Regions from separate parts of the Homo sapiens genome. Here all the other regions are linked to region 3. The links are contacts of gene promoters, found by promoter capture Hi-C in blood cells and fetal thymus (Javierre and others, 2016). All regions are on one chromosome and are shown on one strand. Each heading gives the region's core, a stretch centred on a gene start or on the middle of the fragment in contact. The rest is flanking DNA. Distances are from core to core; before and after follow the strand shown. Region 1 overlaps FEM1C (fem-1 homolog C). Region 2 has its middle 73 kb from the start of TRIM36. Region 3 holds the start of CCDC112 (coiled-coil domain containing 112). Region 4 overlaps FEM1C (fem-1 homolog C).

Region 1 (3,055 bases), core at 510-3,009, 220 kb after region 3:
GTAGAGTAAGAGCAATGGGCTATACGATATAGCCTAGGAATGTAGCGTAGTAGTCTAGACCATCTAGGTTTAAGTACATTCTAGGATGGTCTCACAATGACAAAATCACCTAAAGGACACATCTCAGTACATTTTCCTAGGCATTAAGTGATGCAAAATAGTACAAAACACTAGTTTATTCTTAAGATGATCATCGGAAAGGTTTAAATGCATTTTACAAATTCTGTATAACTAAAGCTCCCACCATTTCTGTAAAAAGTTACATTTAGATGAGTAGAAGCTATTCTACTATCAGCTACTGAAGAGATAAGTAGAAAGATATTGTTGCCTAGTGGCATACAATGCAGGCTTATTTTTTGTGTGTGTGAAAGATTACTCTGAAAGAGCATGAGGAATATGCCTAATTTTCTCTCAACTTTCCAGTATATAATCCCGATCACACTTATTTAAAGTCATTCGTGACTTTAAATTGCATTTTCATAATTTACCAAATTTTAGCTACTACTACTTTAAGAATTTCTGTCTTGAAAAAACTTAAGATTCAACATGGGAAAAAGAAAAAAGGAAAACATACCTAAGATACTAGGTTTTAGAACAACTATGTACTACTACAAGTATCTTTTATAGCTGTATAATCTACAAGTATAAGGATGAAAAGATACTAAAAATAGATACCAATCCTAGGGTTTTCAATTTTTTCAAGGTAGGGAACTGTATTATTTCACTTTTGAAATCAGATGTACATATATTAGAAAAATCAATTAAATTGACATAATTATATAAAGCTGTAATTTTATGAGATAAAATCTTATTTAAGAGCTTTACAAAAAAACATGCAATAAAGTAACACGGAACCCAGGAATCAGTGACTTCACTTAACTCCCACAGCCCCAAACTTCTCAACAAAGAACGTTCTACCCACTAGTACAGAGATTAAAAAAATGAAATAAAGTATCTTGAAGAAATAGAGTATCTTGAGGACATACTAAGACTTTTTCTTATTTAGAGCCTTAAACATACAATATTCTTTTACTGATAAATTTGGTAAGAGTCCTCCTAAATATTGGTGGTGGTAGTGCAGACAACCATAGAACCACAAGACCAAGGGTAAAGAAGACTAATGTTTAAAAGGGCCCGGTCAAAGGAAGACAAAGCCTATACTTGTCATGAAAAAGGGATATTAACAATTCAAAAGGGAAAAACCCATAAAACTGGAGATTTCAATTTATGCTTGGAGTTTAGAAATTACAGCCAATTCATTTTCTGACTCAACTAGAGCTTTTTGTATTAGGCAAGTTAAACATAAAAAAAACAAGGACTACTTAGATTTTACAAATGAAAAGTGATGGAAAACAAACGTATAAAATTTGCATTCATAATAATATATTTATGATATACTTCTGATCACAGCAAACCAATTAAAAAACAAAAATTAAAGGCATCCCTTCTCTCATGCAGTTGACAACAAAAGTCTCCCCATATCTTTAGCTTCTGTGATCTCTACTAGAAAAAAAATTTAGAATAAACTGTACATAAATCATACTTACATAGAAGTATTAACAATAAATGCTATCTTTTAAGTTTTAACTGGCCACAAATTATCAATTAGGTTTTTCTGAAACAGGAGTTTACTATCATTTGCATTAGGATAATACCAATCAAGTATTGAGTTAATAAGAATACACTTAAATTTGGTGCAAATTTAATTTTATTAAACCTTACAATGAATGTTGTGGCATATGATTTTCCATTGTGTGACAATTTATTAGCTGGCATCCGAATACAGTACTTCTTTTGAAAAAATACACAATGGGAACTGACAAAAGGGAGAGAAACTAGTTGTTTAGTGACACATAAGGGCAAAAAAAAAAAAAAGAAAAAGAAAAAAAGAAAATGATGATGACCAATTAGTTTGTTTCCTTAGTATCTAACTCTAAAATGGTTAAAGTTCTAGGCAATAATGCTGCTGTTACAGTGTAAAAGAGTATGTCATTATCTCATCCAGCCTGCACAATTCTAAGAAAATTAATTACAAAAATTATCATACCTGTAAATTCAGCCTAAGGTTTCTGTTGGGCAATATGATTTTTAAAGAGCTACTTTTCCCATATAACCTAAACAATTTTCCCAAATAATAGTAGACTGGGGTCTCTATACACATTAAGGTAGTCACTTTACAAGTGAGCTATCACTTAACTTCAAATTCATAATGGGCACCAAATTATCTTTGATTTGGGTTTATGCCTGTCAGATTTATGAATAAGAAAAATGACTATTTTTAAGTCTATAATCCATTTGTCTTTATAAAGTAGACTGGCATCTAAGTAAAATGACCATTTCTTTTATAGAAATGATCAAAACAGTGGAACATCTAAAATTCAGGAGGCCCCAAAAGGGCATTTTCATAGAAATGTTAATAACTTACACATTAACTCCAGTCAATAACACCGTGCTACAGTGTACAGTTTAGTTAGACTCAAGAGTGTAATTGGTTCATTATTAAATTTACTCATCTGTGGTTCAAAAAATAACACAAATTTAAGTATTTTATTATAATCCATCTCATAATTGTGAGAATACTTTCTGACAAAGGCTTTATCAGTGTCACATTTATGAAACAATTTTCCCTAAAAGAAAATAAAATCAGGGACAATTTTGAGCTATTAAATTAACTGGTTTTTCAAAACCTCCCAATGGCATTTGTGGAGATGGCAGAGAAGGGAGAAATGTATTCTAAGTGAAATAAGTCATTTCAGTTATCAAGACTGAGTTCTAAGTTATCTATTTTTACTGGTGCAAAAATGCTATTTAAAGAAATCCTTACTTTACACAGGAGTTGCACAATTCAAATTCTGCTGCAAAACAGTGAGATGTGCCTCACTATAAGAGCATGTAAGCCCTCCCACCCAGCCCCCAAAGAGGAGGAGGAAATACTAAATCAATTAAAAATTCAATTGTCATCTGTTATCCTCAAATTATCGAGATCAACTAATGTAATTTACTATAATGGCAAAGTTTTCCTTTATAAAAATAATAGCTTATTCATATATAATTC
Region 2 (3,387 bases), core at 527-3,026, 200 kb before region 3:
GTTCTTCTCATCAAGGAAATTGTAAAGTAGTAGATTTGAATGTTGCTACTCAAAATGTAATAAGGGAATCAGCAACAGCACAGCATTACCAAGGAGCTTGTTGGAAATGCAGACTATTAGAATCTACCCTAAACCTCCTGAATCAGAACTTGCATTTTCTGAGGTTGCATAGTGCTGAGAATATTGGAAGGAAAAATAAGCTAATCCAAATCATAACTTGAAGATTTCAATGCTCCCCTCTCAGTAATTCACAGAATAAGTAGATAAAAACTCAGCAAGGATATAAGGATGTGAACACCATCAACTAACCTGACCTAGTTGAAATTTGTAGTACACTTCACCCAGCAACATTCTTTTTAAATGAACATGAAACATTCATCAAGATAAATCATATTCAGCATGATAAAACAAGTCTCAGTATACATAAGAGTAAAGTCATATAGAGTCTATTCTCTTATCACAACAGAAATAAACTAGAAACAATAAAAGAAAGATACTGGAAAATCTTCAAGTAGTTGGTAATTAAGGAAATCACTTCTAAGTAGCACATGGGTAAAAAGAAATTACAAGGAAAATTAGAAAACATTTTTAACTGAGTGAAAATCAAACTCAACATGTTAAAATGTGTGGGATGTAGCTAAAGCAGTGCTTAGAGAAATTTATAGCGTTAAGTGCTTGCATTAGAAAAGAATAGCCTGGGAAAAATGGCACAACCCCATCTCTGCAAAAACTATAAAAATTAGCTGGGCTTGGTGGTGCATCCCTGCAGCCCCAGCTACTCAGGAGGCTTAAGCGGAAGAATGGCTTGAGCCTAGGAGATCGAGGCTGCAATGAGTCATGATCACGCCACTGCACTCTAGCCTCGGCAACAGAGCAAGCCCCTGTCTCAAAAAAAAAAAAAAAAAAAAAAAAAAAGGCATGTTTCCAATACTGAAAAATATTTAAAATATCCTGTACAGTTATTCATTTATTGACTGGGGTTCAAATCCATTCTTCATTGCCTGCTCCATAATAAAAGAGAAAGAACCTGTATCTTCCTTTTGCCAGCTGGCACATTGTTAAGCTTTGTCAGTAGAGCACATGGAAGGAACACAGGAGGAGGGAAAAGCATGGCTTTTCAGATTCTGGTGTGCTCCTCTCAGTAGGCTTCTGAAGCACGCAGCTTCCACCACTCTTGGCTCGTACAGCATGTGGCAGCAGGCAACTGGCAGCACACAGTCTATAGCAGTTCCCTGTAGGCAGCTTTCTCTGACACCCACTTTGGCCCTAAGGCATAATACCTCCCTCTGAACAGCTCCCTTAGCATTTCTTTTTTTTCTTTTTTTTTTAATCTTCTCTTTTTTTTTTTGAGATGGAGCCTCGCTCTGTCACTTAGGCTGGAGTGAAGTGGCACAATTTCAGCTCACTGCAACCTCCACCTCCCGGGTTCAAGCAACTCTCCTGCCTCGGCCTCCTGAGTAGCTGGAATCACAGGCGCCTGCCAACATGCTCAGCTAATTTTTGTACTTTCAGTTCTTTTTTTTTTTTTTTTTTTTTTGAGACAGAGTCTTGCTCTGTCGCCCAGGCTGGAGCGTAGTGGCACGATCTCAGCTCACTGCAACTTCTGCCCCACAGGTTTGAGCGATTCTCCTGCCTCAGACTCCTGAATAGCTGTGATTACAGGCGCACGCCACCATGCCTGGCTAATTTTTGTATTTTTTTAGTAGAGACGGGGTTTCACCATGTTGGTCAGGCTGGTCTCGAACTCCTGACCTCATGATCCACCTGTCTTGGCCTCCCAAAGTGCTGGGATTACAGGCATGAGCCACTGTGCCCGGCCTAATTTTTGTACTTTTAGTAGAGACAAGGTTTTGCCATTTTGGCCAGGCTAGTCTTGAACTCCTGACCTCAAGTGGTCCACCCACCTTGGCCTCAGAAAGTGCTGGGATTACAGGCATGAGACACAGCACCCAGCCTCCCTTAGCATTTCTAAGGAGTGTCACCATCCTGGCATCTTAGCACCATGGCCACACCCATACCCTCTCCATTGAGGTCTGGATCTCAGCCAGGAGACCTGACAGGCGGTAGAGGTGGTGGGGTTTGGGGATGTTTTTTTGAAATTTGCACCTTTGTTGGTGCTCTCTGTCAGTGCCAGGGACAGTGGCTATTCCCTGTAACTGCTATTTCTGTATTCTTTAACATTCTCTTTACTTCTTACCAGCCAATTCCCTGTTATTCGAATCCTTGGTCATAGTTAATACTTTAGCTTTTCCTTTTCAAATTACTGTGTGGTTTTTGTCTCCTGGTTGGCCCCTGACCAACACAGGTTGTGAGATGAAGAAGCCATTTTAACTTTCTCTCCCTGACAACAAAACCCAAATAAGCCATTTGCCTGATACCTAAGACAAACTCACATGTTGGCCAAATTTAAAAAACTGAATTCAATATCCTGACGTTGTATACAGAATTTAATACTAGCAATACTTAATACAAGTTATATAAAAAGTATAACAAGCTTATCTTTCATGAAAGACAACTGGCTGTAAATCCTATTGGCAAGATTCAAACAGTAAAATTATTAACCACTTACCACAAATGTGAAAGAAAATCTTCATGAACCAAAACTCTTCACCAAAATGAGCTGCTACTTCTAAAAGTGTCATCACCTCTACCTTATACTTACATAAGATCACAGTCCCTGGAAGTTTTCCAACTGGTACTCAAACGGGCAAGAGTTATTGTTAGCTGCAGATTGCCTAACACTGTCTAATATGTTAATTCTTTTGAGCATCCACAAATAAGTCAAATCAGATGAATAATTTGAGACTTTTGCATAACCATATTCAGCTGTGCTTTGTGGGGGTGCTCCTGGTTGGGCTACATTTCAGCACTAGGGGGCAATATCCTCACTTAGAATCTACTCTCCACTTGCACATGCCTAACACATTTTTGTTGTTGCTTTTTTCCTCCTAACTAGGGGATTTCTCAGTTAAAGAATCCAAAGAGGACATAAAATAAAATGCCATCCGAAATTCACTTGGGGGCTGTGGAAAACTTGCTCTCCAGTTATTTTTGAAAACTCTCAACAGTAGTTGCTGAATTCTGATTTTTACCTGGGCAGTTACAGCTTGTCATTTTCCATGTGAATGATTCTGTAAGCAGAGCCCAAAACTCTCATAGCCTCTGTTGTCATTGCCTATCAACCAGCCATCAAATCAAAACTATTTTTTTTCAAGAGTTAATTTCACCCAGATGCTGAATTTAAAAAGGGAGAGGTAATTTCCTTGACATTTCTAGACTTGATTAGACATAGACTAATTCAGTGGTAGGGAATGAGGGAGGATGGAAAATTTGTTAATTAAGTTTCATTAGGGAAAAGCATGAAAACAGTCTTTCTACTACCCAAAT
Region 3 (3,108 bases), core at 567-3,066:
CAATATAGCATGCAGTAATGCTGCATTGTTTTGTTTTGTTTTTTTAAAAAAGCCCAAACACACGTGAAGAATTCTACCTAACTATGCTGAGGTAGATTCTCAACAATGAGGCTCTGCTTTCCCTACTAAAGTGGTAAGACAGTATACACCATGGTTCTCAATCTCAGCACTACTAACTTTTGGACCAGATGATTTTTGTTATGGGTGGCTGTTCTCTGGCCTGTATCCATTAGATGCTAGCAGCCCCTCAACACCCCCCTGCTCCCCACTCTGACAGCCAAAAATGTCTCCAAACATTGCTAGATATCCTCTAGGGGATTGATAAAATATCTGAAAGAGCTCCACAGGTGATCTGATCCAACCCCTGAGAAGGCAAACATCACAAAAGTGTGCATCAATAACAACATTAGGCAACTCGCAAGAAATGCAGATCAGAAGACAGAACATTGCTACAAGAATTTAGAGAAATGATGGAGAAAGCCAGCAACATGGTGTCACACATTTTTTTGAGCATAGTACTTAAAAATACTTTACGTATTATGTATATTTATATATTTTACATTTTTTCCTGAGATACTTGGGACAGAGTTAGAATAATAAAGAGAATTATAGAGGATGTGTGAGAAAATTTGCCGTAGGTGGAATTTCCTGAAGGTCTACGAGTAAAGACACTGTATTTCCTTAAAGGAGGAAAAAGATGGAACCTCTCCTCAGCTCATGACAGCCTTCCTTCAGGTTTATATTGATCCACAAATTATTTAGTAAGTGCATACTACGTTCCAGGCACTACACAACAGGCATAGTTCTTGGTGCTGGGAATACAATAAAGAATAAAATTTCCAATACTTTCTGCCCTCATGGAGCTTACATTCTCATGGGGGTGCGAGGGAGGGTGAGGGGTGTGAGGAGAAACATAAACAATAGAAATAAAGTATGTAATATAATATATGGTACTAAGTGCTATGGGGAAAAATAAAACCAGAAACAGGGACTGGGTGTGCCGCGTAAGGCGATTCATTTTAGGGAGATCATGGAAAGTCTCGCTGAGCTGATAACATCTGAACAAAGATACCTTGTCCTCACCACCTAGAAAGCGGTCCTAAGCCGATCACTGGAAACACCTCTGCCTCCGACCATCCCATATTGTCTTTCTCCTTGTGTTCCCAGCGCCGGTACAGTAACAGAGCTGCCACCAATTACTGAGCACAGAGTCCCCCTCCAATCAAGCACTGTGCCAGGGGCTCCCCAGACATAACGTTAGTCCAAAGCTCGGGAGGTGCATGTTACTATTCCCAATTTTTAGAGAAGAAAGTGAGTCGCCGACAGCATATGTTCTTATCACGCGGCTAGGAAGCGGCAGAGCCGGGTTCCCACCCAGGTCTTCCTCGACTCCGAAACCACATGGAGGCGGCTCTGCAAAAGCTGTTAAACGCACAAGCCAACAAAGAGCAACGCCCAGCGCGTGCCAGGCCCCGAGCAGGGGAGGCGAACGCCGCGCCTCCCGCCGGCGCTGCAGAGGGCACCTGTTCAGCCAGGGCCTGCAGCCCCTCGCCTGCCGCCAGAGCAGCTCTCGGTTCTCCCGGATTTACCTGTTGAGGCGCTGGCGTCGCTCCCACGCCGGTCCCGGTGGCCGCGCCCGCCCCTGCCACAGCCCCGGCTACCGCGGTGGCCGCAGCCGCTACCACAACCGTCGTCAGTGCGGCCATGTTTACCCGCCGAGCTACTCGGGCCGCGGCGGCCACCGGTGCCTGGGGATTCGTGGCAGGCGCACCCTGGCCTCTGCAGACAGCTCCCTGCGCTGCGGGCTTGGCCGGGATGCAGGGCGGGGCCGAGATGTAGGGCGGGGTCGGGATGCAGGGCGGGGCTGAGATGCGGGGGTGCAGGGGTGCGGGGGTGCGGGAGGGGCGGGACTGGGGTGCAGGGCGGGGCCGAAATGCGAGGCGGGGGCCGGGATTCAGGCGGGGAGGGGCGGGGCGAGGGAGGGGCAAGGTGCCGGGCGGAGCCGGGATGCAGGGGAGGGGCGGGTCTGGGGTTCTGGGGCGGGCGGGTGTGGGGGCGGGGCGGGGCGGGGCGGGGGCTGCGCTCTGCCCTGTCGCGGGTTTATATACCCTTTGGGCACTTAACCGACTGTGCCAGCCCAGTCCCATACCTGTCAAGAAAATTCATTGTCTTACATCGTCCTTAAATTTTATTCGTGTTATAGTCAATATATACATATTTTTACCTAATATACATCCGCTTTCTAGGTTTCTACTTAGCGCTGCTGAGACTGAGTCTAAATGAAAAAACATTATCAATGGATTCTAACAATAAATCATATTTTAGATTTTTAAAGAAAAAAACCCAGCTTGCTCCACAGAACCAGATATCAGAGGCAGGAATGCCACAGTTACATTCCTAGGACTTGGTCAATGAGAAGACAGATTCCAAAAATACAGTGCTGGGAAGTTGGAAAAAAGCCACAGATGACGCTTCCAGTCAAGACAACCTGTGGCAACTGAGCTGATTTCTGTAGGTACTACCTTTTCCCCCTTTATAGAAATCGATTCATTCAGTCAGTCAATATGGAGCTCCTAGCATATGTCAGGCACTGTTCTAGGCCTTGGGAATTCATTGTTGAATTAGACACATAGGTAAGGTTCCTTCACCTTTAACAAGTAAACAAATAGGTATTTATTGAGCAATTCCTTTATGCCAGGGCTGTTATAAGTGCTTTATATGCACTTTTGCATTTAATCTTCACAAATAACTTCATGAAGTAGGTACTATTATCATCTCCATTTCAGTGATAAAGTTAAGGATCACATGGCCACACAGGTAGAGGGTAGGATACCTATCTAGACAGCCTGACTCCAGAGACCATCCTGGTAGAGGTATTAAACAGGCAGCGGGATAAACGCCTCTGGAGCCCAGGAGAGAGAGAGCTAAAGATACGAATTTGATCTTCCTATAGAAAATATTTGAAATAAGACTGAATGAGCTCACCCAGGGTGAGTATAAATTGAAGTCTGAGAACTAAGCCTAGGCCACTCCGAGAAGGTGACCACGGACAAGAGGAGAAGGGGACCAATATGGAGAGATCTGTGAGAAGGGAGGAAAACCGGAAGT
Region 4 (3,078 bases), core at 346-2,845, 240 kb after region 3:
AAAGAAAAGCACTCATACATGCTACAAAATGGATGAACCTTGAAAACATTACACTAAGTAACAAGACAACTCACAAAAGACTACATATTATGTGATTCCATTTAAATTAAATGTCCAGAACAGGCAAACTTAAGACAGAAAAGAGATTACTGGTTGCCTAAGACTAGTGCAGTTTCAGGGGAATGAGGAGGGATAGGAGGGAGTGACTCTTAATGGATATGAGATTTTTTCCGGGGGTGATGAAAAGCTGATAGTTGTGATGGTTGTATAACCCCGTGAACATACTGAAAAGCCATTGAATTGTATACACTTTAAGTGGTTTTGTGAATTTTATCTCAATAAGGCTGTTTTAAAAATCCAATTAAAATAAAAATATTATATTTTTGGTGAAAGTATAAGTGTTGACTGATAGAAGCAGCAATTAGAGGGTCTTTTATTATAATACATTTATTTGGAAAGACACAAAAACAGTCCTCATCTCTCTTTCTTCAGCCTACTATGCTTGGCACCAACCCATTCCTTCCTCAACTTTGTAGCTGGGGTTGGGCTGAGTACAGAGGTGGTCCACTTGTAAGATGAGGATAGGGTGTGTGGTTCAATTGCACAATAATGCTGATTCCAAGTATTTTATTCCCTGAATAACTAACAGGTGTAGGTTGATGGAGGAGGTAAGAAGGGATAAAGGGAAAAAAACAACTTAGGGTATCAAAGGAGCACTAGAAGAAGGATTCTCTGCTTAGAATGTTTCCCTTCCCCATGTGTAGTCTATCATGAGAGATACTCAAGAACAGAAGTTCAAAAAAAAGGAAATTAAAAAAAAGAAGATAAATTGTGCCAAGACTACTTACTATGTGCCCTCCCTTCATTAATTCTTTGTATAAGGCACTGAGCAAAGAACAAACAGAAATTTAACAATAAAGGTCCTTGAGCTTACAACAAAGTTAAACGCTAAAAAATATCTGCATCCAAAGAGGTAAGATGCATTCTTATAACCTGAGGGAGATGAAGAATTGCATTTGAAATGAGTCTCGATGTTAAGTAGAATTTTCAAGGCTAAGAGCACTGGAGCTAAGGGATGAGGACTAAAAGCAACTAATTATGTGTAAAAAACTCATCTAATGACAGAAAACTTCAACATTATAATTCCCTGTCCTCTAGTTCACAGACTCCCTGTTCAATCACAGCTCTTCCCAAAGGGAGGAAAAAAAGAAGGAAGACATGTTCTGATCAGATTTGCATCCAACTGACTTTTTCATCTGGGTCTCTCCCTATCTCTTCCACTTCTATCTTCCATCACATACATTCCTGCTGCCTCAACAGCATAAATCTATGTAATGCCCTGGGTTTCCTGAATTTTATTTCAAACAAACATATTTTATCAACCAATCAATGAAAATCTGATAAAAAATGAACCAGTGAAGGAACTACATTGTACCCGAAGGCCAGTAAGTGAAACGTAACTTCTATCTTAAGCTCATGTTACTGCCACGAACAATATGAACAGCAGTAGTGCTCAGGATCTACTCATTCTCACCAAACTGCTCAATTCTGTGAGGATTCACAGTTCAAAATCCAATCTCCAGGGACAAAGGACCACATGGATATTTCCCTACTGGACTCAATTTGCACACCATCTACAGCTTAGTTTATCCAACTAAGATACTAATTCTTCCCAAGGACACAGAAAAGTGTGCCAGGGGATACAAGAGGGAAAAGAATGAACACAGAGCAACTTACAGGAGTAACTTCATAATTTGGGATTAAAGTGTTAATGACTTCAACTAGTAAGTTATTTAAACATTACTCAATCAAAATAAATATAGATATATTAGAATAAGTCCCTCCCTTCCCCCTTTTATTTTTCTCTGTAAGTAGGTGTGCTGAGGTAACCAACAGCTGAGAAGAGTTTTCAAAGTCAAGAAGGAAAAGAGAACTTCAGCTTTCAACACTCAGATAGTACTAAAGTATACTAAAATAACCTAGAATGACATCAATCATTATCTTAGTCTATCTGAATACCAACAGTTTTTAGTTTACAAGAGAGATTTTCTCATTTGAGATTCTTGTGCATTTACAGTGGGGAATTAAATAAGATTTTTCTTTAGCATTTCCTTGACTAAAATACATCTATATTCTAAATGCCCATTCTATGAGAGAGAAATAATATAAAGCCTTGGATTTGCTTTAAACTACTATAGAAAACAAAAGGAAAGTAGAAACTTTTTTTTAAACTTTAGCAAATGGGTAATTGTTGAAGTAAGATGATGAATACATAGTGGTTCAATGTATTCTCTCTGTGTAAGTTAGAAAATTTCCATAATGAAAAGGCAAATAATCTGTCTGAACTAGTTCTCTCAAACCCTTTTAATGCTAGCAATCCTTGCCACATGCCTACATGAATTTCTCCCTTTTCTGAACCCCTATATTCTACCTGTGCTACTCATTTTTGTCCAACTACTGTCTTACTTTGTTACTTCAAGTCTTCATGCATGTATTTATTTCCCTACAGAAAGGCCTATAAAACATAGTGCTTGCCATCAAGGAGCTTATAATCTTTCCTCTCTTAAATCCAACATGTCCACTCAACAAGCTCATTTAGGGCCAGATACTCTTCCTAATGCATGGGGTAAAAACACTAGGTCTTTAGCCTCAAAGACTATGTAGTAGAATGCGGTTAGATGTCACAGTGTTGTAGTAGAATGCAGTTAGATAAGTTTCTCTGAAAACAAACAAGCAAACAAACAAACCACTCCAGTTAGTCCCCTGCTGAAAAACTTTTACTGGCATGAAAAATAAAATCCAACTCCTGTACCTAGATTAAATGTCCTTTAAAATTCAGCCCTGAGTGCCTTTTAGTTCTAATATGCCTACTTTCCAATTCCTGGACCCTCCAAGCATATTCTTCAAAGTGCCTTTCCTTATGCCATTTCCTAAACCTTCAAAACTGCCAAAACCCTTCCACAGATCCACATCCCAATAAACTTTCTGCAGATCTAAACCCCAACCTGTCCATAGATCTAAACCCCAAAATTCAAAGCCCTGTTTAACTTCTACTTTCTCCATGAAGCATTCCTAGTC

The links. Contacts are between HindIII fragments. The CHiCAGO score rates a contact against its expected background, and 5 or more counts as called.
Region 1: a fragment that was not itself captured here is called in contact with the fragment with the promoter of CCDC112 in region 3 in 2 of 17 cell types (M1 macrophages and activated CD4 T cells); the score reaches 5.7 in M1 macrophages.
Region 2: a contact is called between a fragment that was not itself captured here and the fragment with the promoter of CCDC112 in region 3, in 1 of 17 cell types (M2 macrophages). The highest score is 5.3, in M2 macrophages.
Region 4: a fragment that was not itself captured here is called in contact with the fragment with the promoter of CCDC112 in region 3 in 15 of 17 cell types (non-activated CD4 T cells, naive CD8 T cells, activated CD4 T cells and 12 more); the score reaches 12.3 in non-activated CD4 T cells.

The regions. Positions count from the first base shown.
Region 1 is chr5:115,519,218-115,522,272 of GRCh38, forward strand. It overlaps FEM1C (fem-1 homolog C), which reads right to left. Exons shown (of 3, transcript NM_020177.3): 3 at 1,691-3,055. Among named protein-coding and RNA genes, the nearest start is that of FEM1C, 24 kb to the right of the region's middle. The HindIII fragment of the contact is 4,322 bases long and covers 1-3,055 here.
Region 2 is chr5:115,095,413-115,098,799 of GRCh38, forward strand. No RefSeq gene overlaps it. Among named protein-coding and RNA genes, the nearest start is that of TRIM36, 73 kb to the right of the region's middle. The HindIII fragment of the contact is 1,431 bases long and covers 1,062-2,492 here.
Region 3 is chr5:115,294,838-115,297,945 of GRCh38, forward strand. It overlaps CCDC112 (coiled-coil domain containing 112), which reads right to left and starts at 1,817. Exons shown (of 10, transcript NM_001040440.3): 1 at 1,590-1,817. The coding sequence starts at 1,706. It overlaps LOC105379129 (a long non-coding RNA gene), which reads left to right and starts at 2,091. Exons shown (of 5, transcript XR_948684.3): 1 at 2,091-2,511. RefSeq lists a silencer at 1,466-1,915. The HindIII fragment of the contact is 8,729 bases long and covers 1-3,108 here.
Region 4 is chr5:115,535,889-115,538,966 of GRCh38, forward strand. All of the region lies in intron 2 of FEM1C (fem-1 homolog C), which reads right to left. Among named protein-coding and RNA genes, the nearest start is that of FEM1C, 7.3 kb to the right of the region's middle. The HindIII fragment of the contact is 5,527 bases long and covers 1-3,078 here.